Linked DNA regions of Homo sapiens: regions 2 and 3 are each linked to region 1. Evidence: promoter capture Hi-C in human tissues and cell types (Jung and others, 2019). All regions are on one chromosome and are shown on one strand. The core of a region is centred on a gene start or on the middle of the fragment in contact, and the rest is flanking DNA. Distances in the headings are between cores, read along the strand shown.

Region 1 (4,516 bases), core at 674-3,173:
CAGGTGAGCACAATCTCCAAATTGTGGGTGTCAGAACCCCCAGAACTAATGTAACTTCCAAGTCAGCCCCATACCTGAAACTTACCATATAGGCCTCAAAGGCTGAATGCAGCCACCGGTGCTCACAATCAAATCAACACCCCATAATAAACAGACACCCCACAACTGATCAAATAATACTCCATCCTGATGCCAAAGGGAGAGCCCCTAGTCTAATTCTCATCTCCAAGCTGGGCAGAGACCTAAATAACCCTCACATGTCAAAGCCACCTCATCGTCCTGAATTTCCCAGTTCCCGGTTTCTCAGCTGTTCTTTCATGCATTCAAATAAAGACACACTCCGGTCTGAAGGGGAGGGCCCCGGGCCTGATATCCAGCCCCGTGGACCATGGTCGGCCATTCCTGGCCAACTGTACACTCTCCCCAGCCCAAATCCGGGGAGCTTCTGCCTTGCAGCTGGATTCAGCTCTAGCACCCCTTCTCCAAATGAGCTTTGCCTTGCCTGCCCGCAATGTCTCCCGAAACAAAATATGAGGGTGTGATCCATGCCCATCTCTCAGATCAGGGACTTCAAATTAGGGTGGTTAAGCCCCCTCCTGCCCTCTCTCCCTCCTCCTTGTTTTCCCTTCTCGTTTACCCCACCCAATTTTAATGTTCAATTAAAAGTCACCTCCAAAGACATCTGGGTAGCAGTGTCTAGCTTAATTCGAAAAGAAAACCCGGAGTTCCCAGGCTCAGGTCCCGCTTCTTGTCCCACCCATTCCCCTGGCTCCTAAAGCCCGCGATTTCTCACCTCGGGTAGGAACCCCAGCCTGAGGGGAAAGTCCCCTCGGTCTCCTAACTCTAGCTCCCTCCGCCCAGCCCTAGTCCCCTCCTAGGAGACAGAGGTGCAAAATAAACCCGCGCAAAGGGGAGGAGGCTAAAGGTTTCAGCCGCCCAGACCAAATGGATCCTGCGCCCGGGTCTGAGCGCACCCCAGGCCGGGTGGAGACGAGGGGCGAGGCGAGGCCAGTGCTCGGCCGCCCCCTCGTGGAAGGAGCCGCACATTGCCGAGCCTTGCCTACTTGCCGCGCTGGACCCCGGCGTCCCGCCAGCCTCCAAGCGTAGCCGACGGGCGGGTGCCCGAGGCCCTCGTGAGCTGGGATTGGGGGAAAGCAAGCGGGCTTTGGGCGGGAGTCCATCTCTCTGGATCCCTACAAGGACCCAGAAGAGAGTCGGGAGCGAGAGAGGCCGGACGCCTAGGTCTCCCGAGCGTCTCTCGCCCCTCCACCCCCACCTCGGGGCTTTCCCCACCTCCTCGAGGGGAAGCAGCTGGCGGAGCCGTCCGGTCGCAGGACAATGGAAGGAAACCAACTAGAAATCATATCCGCCCTCTCCGTACCCCGCCCGGCCAGAGCCCCCCTTTTTGTAGGCCCGGGTAGAGTAGCCTGTCATTCACACCACACCCTCCCCGTCTGAGACCCTACGGGAGCCCACTGTCGTCTGCCCAAACCTGCTGTCTCGTTGGGCTCCCCCTTTTCTCCCTTAACACAGTACAAGAGAGGGAGAGGGGGTTGCCGTATGCACTTTGTCCTGCAGCAAAGGTTGGCTCCTGGCAAACCCTCCCAAAAGCCAACACACCAATTTTCACTGGCCCAGGCCTTCCGACGACTCAGACTCCCGTATTGCCAACCTCGATATCCCTAACCTCCTCCCCAATTCCAATATCCCCGTCCTCGTGTCCACTTGCAGTGACCCAAGACCCCCTACGTTACGACCACCCCTTGTTTCTGAGGTCCCGCCCTCGAGACGGAGACCCCGCCCTGGACTCGCCATCTGGAGAGCGAGGGAGGAAGGAAGGATACAGACCCAGGCGTTCACCCCACCTCCACCCCCGCCCCCGACATCCCGGCCAGATAAAGGAGCCGAGGCCAAGAGGGGAGAGAGACCCCGCCCCCCTTAAGAAGAGAAGCCGCGGCCCCTGCAGGACGGGGGTAAGAACAAGAGACTGAGGGAGCCAGACTCCTGGGTCCCCCAAGAGGGTAGGAGCTTGTGTGGAGCTTGCCATCAGCGAGCCTGAGTCCCAGAAATTGGGCTAAACTAGGGATTGGGGACTAGATAGGAGTCGCAGAATTCCGTAGTTCGGGGAAGGGAGCCTCGGCTGGGATTTGGAGGTGTGTGGACGGCAGGCCGTGAGATCTCGAGGCAGGGTTGGACACCTGAGACACAGGCGCGCAGAGGGGAGTGGCGGTGCTGGAGGGGCACTGGGGGTCGAACCCAGGGCGATGGGCGCGGGATTCCCCACGCTCGCCAACGACGCCGCGGTGTGGAACCTTCAACTGGCTCCAAGCGCTGTGGGATCTGGAAGAGGCAAGGGAGCGAGGGTGTCGTAGAGGGCAGAATGAACAAGAAGAATTAGGAGGGAGGCTGCGTGTGCCGGGGCTAGGGGCTGGAAGTCCTGGCTCTAGTTGCACCTCGGAAGGAAAAGGCAAACAGAGGAGGGAAGGCGTCTTAGGACTGCCTGGATCCAGAGCACTTTCCACGGCCTCTACAGGCCTGTGTCGCTATGGGTTCCCCCGCCGCCCCGGAGGGAGCGCTGGGCTACGTCCGCGAGTTCACTCGCCACTCCTCCGACGTGCTGGGCAACCTCAACGAGCTGCGCCTGCGCGGGATCCTCACTGACGTCACGCTGCTGGTTGGCGGGCAACCCCTCAGAGCACACAAGGCAGTTCTCATCGCCTGCAGGTTCGAGGGGTGGGGCCTGGGGCGGGGCCAAATGGGAAAGGGGTGGGACCACAGGGCCGTTGAGAGGGAATCCGAAGCCAAGTCTTTCAGAAGCAGGAGGCGGAGCGTCCCAGAATTGGGGGCGGGGTGATAGTGAGGAGGCGGGACTTTTTCAGGGGGCGGGGCTTCCTGAAGCTGCGCATGTCTCCCTTGGTTCCCCAGCCCCCAAAGGACTTATCTGCTCTCTCTCTAGTGGCTTCTTCTATTCAATTTTCCGGGGCCGTGCGGGAGTCGGGGTGGACGTGCTCTCTCTGCCCGGGGGTCCCGAAGCGAGAGGCTTCGCCCCTCTATTGGACTTCATGTACACTTCGCGCCTGCGCCTCTCTCCAGCCACTGCACCAGCAGTCCTAGCGGCCGCCACCTATTTGCAGATGGAGCACGTGGTCCAGGCATGCCACCGCTTCATCCAGGCCAGGTGAGGGACCCTGGCTCGGCGTTCTCTGTGGGTGAGGTGTTAAGGGCAAAGGCAGAGTTTAGGAAATGGCACTAACGTTCATCACACTTTCCCCAGCTATGAACCTCTGGGCATCTCCCTGCGCCCCCTGGAAGCAGAACCCCCAACACCCCCAACGGCCCCTCCACCAGGTAGTCCCAGGCGCTCCGAAGGACACCCAGACCCACCTACTGAATCTCGAAGCTGCAGTCAAGGCCCCCCCAGTCCAGCCAGCCCTGACCCCAAGGCCTGCAACTGGAAAAAGTACAAGTACATCGTGCTAAACTCTCAGGCCTCCCAAGCAGGGAGCCTGGTCGGGGAGAGAAGTTCTGGTCAACCTTGCCCCCAAGCCAGGCTCCCCAGTGGAGACGAGGCCTCCAGCAGCAGCAGCAGCAGCAGCAGCAGCAGTGAAGAAGGACCCATTCCTGGTCCCCAGAGCAGGTACAGAGTCTAGAACCTCAAGAATTTGTCAGAGCTGGCCTCAGCTAGAAGACAGAGTCATTGGGCCTTGATGGTCAGGAGGAAGGGAGATAGGTGGTGGGTTTCAGAGACACTAGCTCACCTTAAGGAGCTGGCCAGAGACCAGGTTTATTCAGCAGGGTGGCACTTGGGCAGTACAATGGATGTGGCTCATTGGTCAACAATATTGGCTCACCCTGAGAGGGCAGGCCTTTGGCTCCAAATTTCCCAGGAGAGAACCCCCACCCCTCAACCGTACAATCTCTTTTAACCCTTTCCTTGCCATCTGCCTAGGCTCTCTCCAACTGCTGCCACTGTGCAGTTCAAATGTGGGGCTCCAGCCAGTACCCCCTACCTCCTCACATCCCAGGCTCAAGACACCTCTGGATCACCCTCTGAACGGGCTCGTCCACTACCGGGTAAGAGCCCCTCTTTCTTGGCTTTTCTCCCGTGACTGCTCCAGGCAAGTTTGTGCCAAAAACTCTCCCAGAAAGGCCTATTCCAATGGTTCCTAAACTTTATTACAAATTAGAATCACCTAGGAAGCTTTTAAACTCCCACTGCCCAGGTCACACTCCATAGATTAAAATATCTGGACATGGGACGAGTCATCAGTATTTTTCTAAAGCTCTCCCAGTGCTTCCAATGAGCAGCAAAGTTTGAGAATTTCTGGCCTATCCCCTTTCAGAGCTGAATGGTCAGCCCAAAGCTTGTCAGGGCCTCTCTGGCAGGCTGTCATTCAGAGTGGTGCAAGTGAGGAGGAGATTTTAGCCAAGCATGGTGGCTCATGCCTGTAATGCCAGCACTTTGGGAGGCCAGTGCAGGAGGATCACTTGAATCCAAGAGCTCAAGGCCAGCCTG
Region 2 (4,516 bases), core at 1,076-3,575, 57 kb before region 1:
AAGTTTTCCTCTAAGACCAGGAACAAGACAAGGATATCCATTCTCACCACTTCTATTCAACATAGTACTAGAAGGCCTAGCCAGAGCAATTAGGCAAGAAAAAGAATGAAATGGCATCCAAATAGAAAAGGAAGAAGTTAAATTGTCTCATTTGCTAACATGATCTTATATGTAGAAAACCCTAAAGATTCCACCAAAAAAACTGCTAAAACTAATAAATGAATTCAGTAAAGTTGCAGGATACAAAAACCAACCTACAGTATCAGTAGCATTTCTATACCCTGACAACGAACTATCCAAAAAAGAAATTAAGATAACAATTCCATCTACAATAACATCAGGAAGAATAAAATACTTAGGAATACACTTAAATAAGGAGGTGAAAGACCTATACACTGAAAACTATAAAACATTAATGAAATATATTGGAAAGTCACAAATAAATGGAAAGATATCTGCAGGACAGTTATTTAGGGAGGAGGTAGACTTGCACTGACTTAGTTCTTCCCCTTTCTTGCTTGTAGTTCCCAAGAATAACTATAAAATGTGCTGGGAATTCGCCATCCTGAGATAAGGAGTTGGCCAGAATAGCCCAGGCTCTATTCCAGTCTCCCCTAGAAATAAGATGTCCTTCAGTGATTTAGCCCAGTATGTCACATACCCCAGGGTATTAAAAAAAAGCCAGCCAGGTGCAGTGGCTCATACCTGTAATCCCAGCACTTTGGGAGGCCAGGAGTTTGAGACCAGCCTGGGCAACAGGGCGAAACCCCATCTTTACTAAAAATACAAAAATTAACCAGGCCTGATGGCACACTCATGTAGTCCCAGCTATACAGGAGGCTGAGGCAGGAGAATCCCTTGAACCCAGGAGGCGGAGGTTGCACTGAGCCAAGATCATGCCACTGCACTCCAGTCTGGGCAACAGAGTGAGACTCTGTCTCCAAAAAAAAAAAAAAAAAAAAGCCAGGGCAGGCTGCTTTTTTTGAGGAGGTCCCTCAGCTGCAATGCAGGTGGAGCATGCACATATGACACTCCATCCACCACAAGCAGTTTTCCAGAGACTCCGGGAATGCTTGCAATGAACACTGGGTTTCTGTTGTCCCTTGCTGCCTATCTGTAGGTAATAAATCCACTATATTTAATTTGCTGCGTATAAGTGTGTTCAGTCTTACTGGACTCAGGGAAGTTGGTAATCAGTGCACAGTAAACCTATTCCACAAAATCCCATGTCCATGAATAGGAAAAATCAATATTATCAAAATGTCTCTACTACCCAAAGTGATCTAAAGATTCGCTGCAACCCCTTTCAAAATTCCAATGGCATTTTTCACTGAAATAGAAAAAAGAAATCCTAAAACTTGTATTGAGCTACAAAAGACTTCTAATATCTAAAGAAATTGTGAGCAAAAACAAAAGAGCTGAACATAAACATTAAAAAAATGAAATTAGACCTTATTTATAACATACACAAAAGTCAACTCAAAATGGATTAAAGACTTAAATGTAAGACCTGAAATCATAAAAATGTTAGAAGAAAACATACAGGAAAGCTCTATGACATTGGTTTTGACAATAATTTGGGGGGTCCATCAAAATCCATATCCATTTTTGGATATGGTACCAAAAGCACAAGCAACAACAGCAAAAATAAATAGAATTATATCAAACTAAAAAGTTTCTACACAGCAAAGAAAACAATCAACAAAATGAAAAGGCAACCACAGAATGGGAGAAAACATTTGCATACCATGTATCTGATAAGGGGTTAATATTCCAAATGTATAAGGAACTCATACAACTCAACAGCAAAAAAAAAAAAAAAAACCTGATGTTTAAAGTGGGCAAAATACCTGAATAAACATTTTTCCAAAGGAGACATACAAATGCCCAACAGGTATATAAAAAGGTGTTGAACATCAGTCATCATCAAGGAAATGCAAATCAAAATCACAGTGAGACATAATCTCATACCTGTTAGCATGAGTATTATCAAAAATTCAAAAATAACAAATGTCGGTCAGGCGCGGTGGCTCACGCCTGTAATCCCAGCACTTTGGGAAGACGAGGTGGGCAGATTACCTGAGGTCAGGAGTTCGAGACCAGCCTGGCCAACATGGTGAAACCCCGTCTCTAGTAAAAACACAAAAATTAGCTGGGCATGGTGGCGGGTGCCTGTAGTCCCAGCTACTCAGGAAGCCGAGGCAGGAGAATCGCTTGAACCCAGGAGGCAGAGGTTGCAGTGAGCTGAGATCATGCCATTGTACTCCAGCCTGGGCAACAGAGTGAGACTCTGTCTCAAAAAAAAAAAAAAAAAAAAAAAAAAAAAAACAAGGGATGCAGGGAGGGGAAAATGAGGAAGTGGTAATTACAGAGTACGAAGCTTCAATTATGCAAGATAAATAAGTTCTGGAAATCTATTATATGGCATACCGCCTGTAGCTAACGATGCTGTATTTTGTACTTAAAATTGCTAAAAGAGTAGATTTTATGGTAAGTGTTCTTGCCAAAAAAAAAAAAGAGCCACACATCATCATCATCATCATCATCATTATCACAGAAGGGGACAGGAGGAAACTTTGGGAGATGACGATGGGTTTGATGGTAGTGTTGGTTTCACAGGCATATATTTAACTGCAAATTCATTGATATGTGATAATTAAATAGGAATAGCTTTTCATATCAATCATACCTGAATAAAAGTAGTCTAAAGACTTCAGTATTAACTTCTCATTGAAAACTCCCCTGACTCTTCCAATCTCTGTGCTCCTAGGCTTCAGTCAGGATTCTTTTTTTTTTTTTTTTTTTTTTTTTTTTTGAGATAGAGTTTTGCTCTTGTTGCCCAGGCTGGAGTGCAATGGAGCAATCTCAGCTCACCACAACCTCCGCCTCCCAGGTTCAAGTGATTCTCCTGCCTCAGCCTCCCGAGTAGCTGGGATTACAGGCGCCCACTACCACGCCCGGCTAATTTTGTATTTTTAGTACAGACGGGGTTTCTCCATGTTGGTCAGGCTGGTCTCAAACTCCCGACCTCAGGTGATCCACCCGCCTCGGCCTCCCAAAGTGCTGGGATTACAGGCATGAGCCACCGCACCTGGCCATGCCAGTCAGGATTCTTACACATTTTATTTGTGTTTTCACTGCAAGGCTTCTTTTCCCAGTAGACAGTGGGTCATAATAATAGTAGTTATTATCATACACTAAACCAGTGCTTACTAGTTACTATTCCGATCATTTCACTTGTATTGACCTTTAATTTTCGCAAAAATCATTCAGGGTAGGTACTTTTCTTCACAATTTACAAATGAAGCAACTGAGGCACAAAGATGAAATAACTTTCCCAAGATGACACATCTAGTAATAACGGAGACAGAATTGCAAACACGGGTGGTCTGGATCCATGGTCTGCGCTCTCAACAACTACTCTACGCACAACAGCTTCTCCACACAAAGTGCTGCGTGCTTGGCTGCAACCGCTGCCTAACGTCATTTTAAGGTTTGCCAAATGTATTTGTCTAAAGAATGCATTTTAAGTTGTAATACATCGATGAAAAGTCAACAAGGATTCAAGATATGTACTATATGGCTGAGTTTTAAAAGGAAAAAAAGAATAAAAAACTATAGAAAGGAGGGAAAGAGGAAGAGAAGGAAGAAGGCAAAAGAAGGATAGAGGGATAGAGAGAGGAAGATAGAAAGAAAATAAAACTGGTTTCAAAGTCACAAGAAATGACCAAAATTGAAAATTGAAATTCTACAGAATACTGAGAGACGTTGACACATAAATAAATAATAAAGAAGTACACCATGCCCATGGAGCAGAAGACTCAGTATAGTTGAGATACCAATTTTCAGCCAGGCGTGGTGGCTCATGCCTGTAATCCCAGCACTTTGGGAGGCCGAGGCGGGCGGATCACCTGAGATCAGGAGTTCAAGACCAGCCTAGCCAACATGGTGAAACCCTGTCTCTACAAAAATACAAAAATTAGCCAGGCATGTTGGCGGGTGCCTGTAATCCACTTCTTGACAGGCTGAGGCGGGAGAGTTGCTTGAACCCAGGAGGTGGAGGTTGCAGTGAGCTGAGATCACACCATTGCACTCTAGCCTGGGCAACAGAGCGAGACTCCATCTCAAAAAAAAAAAAAAAAAAAGACATCAATTCTTCCTAGACTGATTTAGGCATCAATAAAAATCAGAACCTCAGACAGCTATTTTATAGAAGGAGACAAGCAGAATTTCAAGTTTAAATAGAAAAGCAAAATATCTAGAAGATCCAAAACAATCTAGAAAAATAAGAACAAAGTTGGAAGACTGATACTATCTGACTTTCAAGACTTAGCTAACTATAAAGCTAGCTCAGTAATAGATATTAATATATGAAACGGTAATATATATTATTAGCAAGAGTGTTGGCATCAGGATAGACATATAGATCAATGGGACAGAGTCCAGAAATAGACCTACATGTATATAATTAATTGATTTTCAACAAAGGTATCAAGATAATAGAGGATAATCTTCG
Region 3 (4,516 bases), core at 791-3,290, 50 kb after region 1:
TGGGTGGCAGACCCTGCTCCTGGTGTGCCCACCCTGAGGCTCAAGTGGTAGCCATGGGCAGAGGTTGGGGGGGTGAATGGAGGGTGTGGACCATGCTGAAGGTGTCCTCACGTGTCCCCCAGGCTCCTCAAGGTGCAAGACTGAGCTGAGGGAAGGGAGCAAAGGGAAGTGAGCTCAAGAGGAACTAGCTCAGGCCTCTGCAAACTTTGAGGGGTGGGCCTGTCTCTGGGGTCTTCTGCTTGTCTTACCTTTTCTTTTTCTTTTTTTTTTTTTTCTTGAGACAGAGTCTCGCTCTGTTGCCAGGCTGGAGTGTAGTGGCGCGATCTCGGCTCACTGCAACCTCCGCCTCCCAGGTTCAAGCAATTATCCTGCCTCAGCCTAATAAGTAGCTGGGACTACAGGCACCCGCCACCATGCCCAGCTAATTTTTGTATTTTTTAGTAGAGACAGGTTTCACCATGTTGGCCAGGATGGTCTTGATCTCTTGACCTCACGATCCGCCTGCCTCAGCCTCCCAAAGTGCTGGGATTACAGGTGTGAGCCACTGCACCCGGCCCAATTTTTTATTTTTAGTTGAGACGGGGTTTCGCCATGTTGGCCAGGCTGGTCTCGAACTCCTGACCTCAGGTGATCCATCCACCTCAGCCTCCCAAAGTGCTGGGATTACAGGCGTGAGCCGCCGCACCTGGCCTGTCATACCTTTTCTAAGATCATGTTCCTTCTCACTCTCTAAGCACTTGAGATCTTCATACTTCATTGACATCCTTGGCCCAAGTGGTCTCTGTGGCTGCAGGAGCTGAGATGGAGGCAGAGAAAGGGCTCCGAGGGGGAGCCTGAAATAAGGGCTGGAGGTGGGTGTGGAGCTGGTTTTGAGGTAGGAAGTGAGGATTCGATAGTGGCTGAGCCAGGCGTGAGAACTAGGAATGTGGCTGGGGGCTGGGTTTGCAGGTGAGGTTGAAACAGCGATCACAATTGGGGTTGTATCTGGGGTTAGGATGGGGTTGACTTACTTGGGGCTAAAAATCAGATTGGGTCTCAGGCTAAGATTGTAGACAGGGCTCCTTTGGAGTTGGGTCTGAGTTTGGGGCTGAGATTGGAAACATGTGGGATGGAGCATGGGGGTGTAGTACAGCTAGGCTGGAGCTGCAGTGGGGACAGAGATTGAATTTAGGGATGAATTTAGAGCCGACATTGGGACTGCAGTTGGGGCTGGAACTGGGATTGTATTGGTTTGGGGCTGTCCAACCCAATCTGGAAGTCAGTGGAGAGATCATTTCAATCTCCTCCAATAACTAGTTCAATCTGTGATCCATCTTCCCAGTTATTTCCACCTATAACACAAAGTCGCCCTCTCCATATTTTCCCTAATGCCCTCCCTGCCTCCGCCGTCCAGTTACCTGTACAAAACTAGAGAATGTAATTGTTTGCTTTCTTAGGTAGCAGAATTACCAGGTCAGGAAATTCTAGAGGGAACTGACTTGTATTGGTTCTCCTGCTCCCCTCTACATTCTGTGGCCCTGGTAGAACTGTGATCTCACGCTCCTGCTGGGTGGCTTCTCTCCCATGATCCAAAATCTTTCAGACCCAGGGGAGAGAGGCACAGAGCTGCTTGGGTGGATGATCTGGGTGGATGTTCTTTACTTTTGTGCCTTCAGGCTTCAGAGTGGTGATGTCTCTGCTATTCTTAGCCACAGGGACTTCACCAACTTTTGTTGGCTTCCTCAACCCTGCTCACACTCTGTAAATGTCATTAAACTCTTTTCAATAAACCCTTTTGTGGCCAAGCACTGCAGCTCATACCTGTAATCCTAGCAGTTTGGGAGGCCAAGGCAGGACAATCGCTTGAGCCCAGGAGTTTGAAACCACCCTGGGCAACATAGTGAGACCCTATCTCTACAAAAAATAAACTTAGCCAGGCATGGGGGCACACATCTATAGTCTCAGCTACTCAGGAGGCTGAGAAGAGAGGATTGCTTGAGTCCAGGAGTTCAAGGCTGCAGTGAGCTATGATCGCACCACTGCATTCTAGCCTGGGTGACAGAACAAGAACCTGTCTCTCTATATATATATGTAGAGAGAGAGAAAGAGAAATAAATCCTTTGGTTTTGACACCTGTATCTTGCTGGAACTGATTAAAAAAAAACCCTTTGAATAAAATTATAAATGTTTACTATGGTACACAGAAAAATAAAAAAGAATAAACTCCATTTGGAAGTCTAACAGGCTCCTCAAACTCAACATGTTCAAAATAAAGCTTCTTATCTCCTCATCCCACCCACAAAACCAGCTTCTCACACGGTCTTCCCATCTTAATTAACTGGGACTCCATCCTTCTAGGTTTTCAAGCCCCAAACCTGGAATTATCCTTGACTTTCTCATTTTCCCAAACCCCTCAGACAACCCATCAGCAAATCCTGACAGCTAATTCAGACATTCCTATATGCCAGGGAGCTTTCTGGGTACAGTAATACAGCAATGAATGGGTCCTGCCATCCCTTAATGAACTTAAAAAGTTGGTTCTTAATAGCTGAAATGCAGCTGGGTGTGGTGGCTCATGCCTGTAATCCCAGCACTTTGGGAGGCCGAGGCGGGCTGATCACCTGAGGTCGGGAGTTGGAGACCAGCCTGACCAACCTGGAGAAACCCCATCTCTACTTAAAACACAAAAGTAGCCAGACATGGTGGCAGGCTCCTGTAATCCCAGCTACTCGGAAGGCTGAGGCAGGAGAATCACTTGAACCTGGGAGGCGGAGGTTGCAGTGAGCTGAGATGACGCCATTGCACTCCAGCCTGGGCAACAAGAAGGAAATTCCCGTCTCAAAAAAAAAAAAAAAAAAAAAAATCAAAATAGCTGAGATGCTTCCCTGGTATATGCTGGATTGATTGAAAAAACAGAAATCTCCACCCCTCTCTATATCCATTCTCTACACAGTATGACTTTGTAGACCCCCCCCCAACCCCCCACCAAAATGTGGAATCTATTTCTCTGGCCCTTGAACCTGGGCAGCCTTGCAATCTGCTTTGGCCAATAGGATGCAGCAAAAACGATGCTTCAGTTCCAAGCAAGGCTCTGAAGTCCTTGCAGTCTTCCAATTTCTCTCTTGGACCCCCACCCAGCCATTCTGTGAACAAGGCCAGGCTAAGCTAATGTGGCCCAGTCATCCCCATTGTCCCAGCCCAGAGCCAGCCAAATATGAGACATGGGAGCAAGGCTACCCTAGACCAGCCAACCCCAAGCCAACCCACCAGCTGACCACGGACGCATAAACAAGCCCAGCCAAGATGACCCAAACCTGGCCAGACCAGACCTATAGCCTCATGAGCTATAATAAATGCTTACTGTATAAGCCCTGAGCTTTGAGGTGGTTTGTTACACACCAATTGCTAACCAATACACCTGGGGATCTTATCTACATCTCCCAACAACTCTGGGATCTTCAGAGAAATTAAACAATGGCTTTTCCTAATCACCCTAAGTTTATACCATCTTTAAGTGACAGAAAAGATTTGAACTCAAATCTATATGAGAAGAAAATGCTATTTTCTCAATCACATAGGACTTTCGAAGGCTTCACCTGGCTTCTCCACTCTGCCATTTTTAGATTGCCAAAAATCAAGCAACACAAAGTACGTAAGTTCTCACGAGAGTATATATTCACTTATATGAAGTATATACACGAGAGTGTATGATTTCACTTATATGAAGTTCTAGAAGCTCTAGAAGAGGCAAGGCCAATAAATAGTGAAAAAGAAGTAGATCACTGGCCTGGAAACAGGGAAGTGGTTGGACTGCCCAGAGGCATGAGGGGACTGGTGGGGGCGATGGCAATGTTATCTATTGCGATCGGAGTGGTAGTCACCTAGGCATGCATATTTGTCAAAGTCATCTCTACTCTTTAAATGAGTGCATTTTTATTATGTAAAAATTATACCTTCATGAAGTTGACTTTCAAAAGTTGGAAAAAAAATAAAAGCTTAAGAACACTATACCATCTTTTTAAAATTAAAGAGAAAAAAATTCAAAATGTTAGCAGTGCTTCCAATCTCCCAGTGCTTATTTCTCTCCCAGAGCGGTCTTGCGAGGAGGTCGTGAGAAGAGTCCTCCTCCCACCGCCATTTCTGTGGCCGGGTGGTCCCACCAAAGGCAGCTCAGTGACTCTCCTGGCTGGTCTGACCCAGGCCAGCCTCGCAGACCCAGTGGTAGGGCCTCTGGCAGACGTCGTCATTCCACCTGCCGTCTGGATGGAAGTGAGCACAGTCCTCGCCTCCACCCAGCCCGTGCCCCTGCCAGTCGTCTGGCTGGCCTGGCTTCCAGTTCCTGAGAGGAAAAGACAACAGCAAGCTAGGAAGGGTAGATGGAGTAGAATTCAGTTCAGGGGAGGAGAGGCTGCCAGTCAGATCCCTGGGGGAAACGCTGACGGAGGACATTGGCACAGAAAGCCAGGGTGCACTCACTGGAAGCCGGTCGCATAGTCTGTTCCATCCACCCACTTCCAGGCTCCTTCAGGGTCACTGA

Evidence for each region. Contacts are between HindIII fragments. The study calls those that stand out against the background at their distance.
Region 2: a fragment that was not itself captured here is called in contact with the fragment with the promoter of BCL6B in region 1 in 1 of the 25 tissues and cell types used here (neural progenitor cells).
Region 3: a fragment that was not itself captured here is called in contact with the fragment with the promoter of BCL6B in region 1 in 1 of the 25 tissues and cell types used here (liver).

The regions. Positions count from the first base shown.
Region 1 is chr17:7,021,127-7,025,642 of GRCh38, forward strand. BCL6B (BCL6B transcription repressor) reads left to right here and starts at 1,924. Exons shown (of 9, transcript NM_181844.4): 1 at 1,924-1,973; 2 at 2,534-2,724; 3 at 2,957-3,178; 4 at 3,275-3,637; 5 at 3,950-4,074. The coding sequence starts at 2,546. RefSeq lists a silencer at 878-1,017. The HindIII fragment of the contact is 11,810 bases long and covers 1-4,516 here.
Region 2 is chr17:6,964,005-6,968,520 of GRCh38, forward strand. No RefSeq gene overlaps it. Among named protein-coding and RNA genes, the nearest start is that of ALOX12, 30 kb to the right of the region's middle. The HindIII fragment of the contact is 6,098 bases long and covers 1-4,516 here.
Region 3 is chr17:7,070,905-7,075,420 of GRCh38, forward strand. It overlaps CLEC10A (C-type lectin domain containing 10A), which reads right to left. Exons shown (of 9, transcript NM_001330070.2): 8 at 4,456-4,516; 9 at 3,633-4,318. The coding sequence ends at 4,150. Among named protein-coding and RNA genes, the nearest start is that of CLEC10A, 7.1 kb to the right of the region's middle. The HindIII fragment of the contact is 4,659 bases long and covers 1-4,370 here.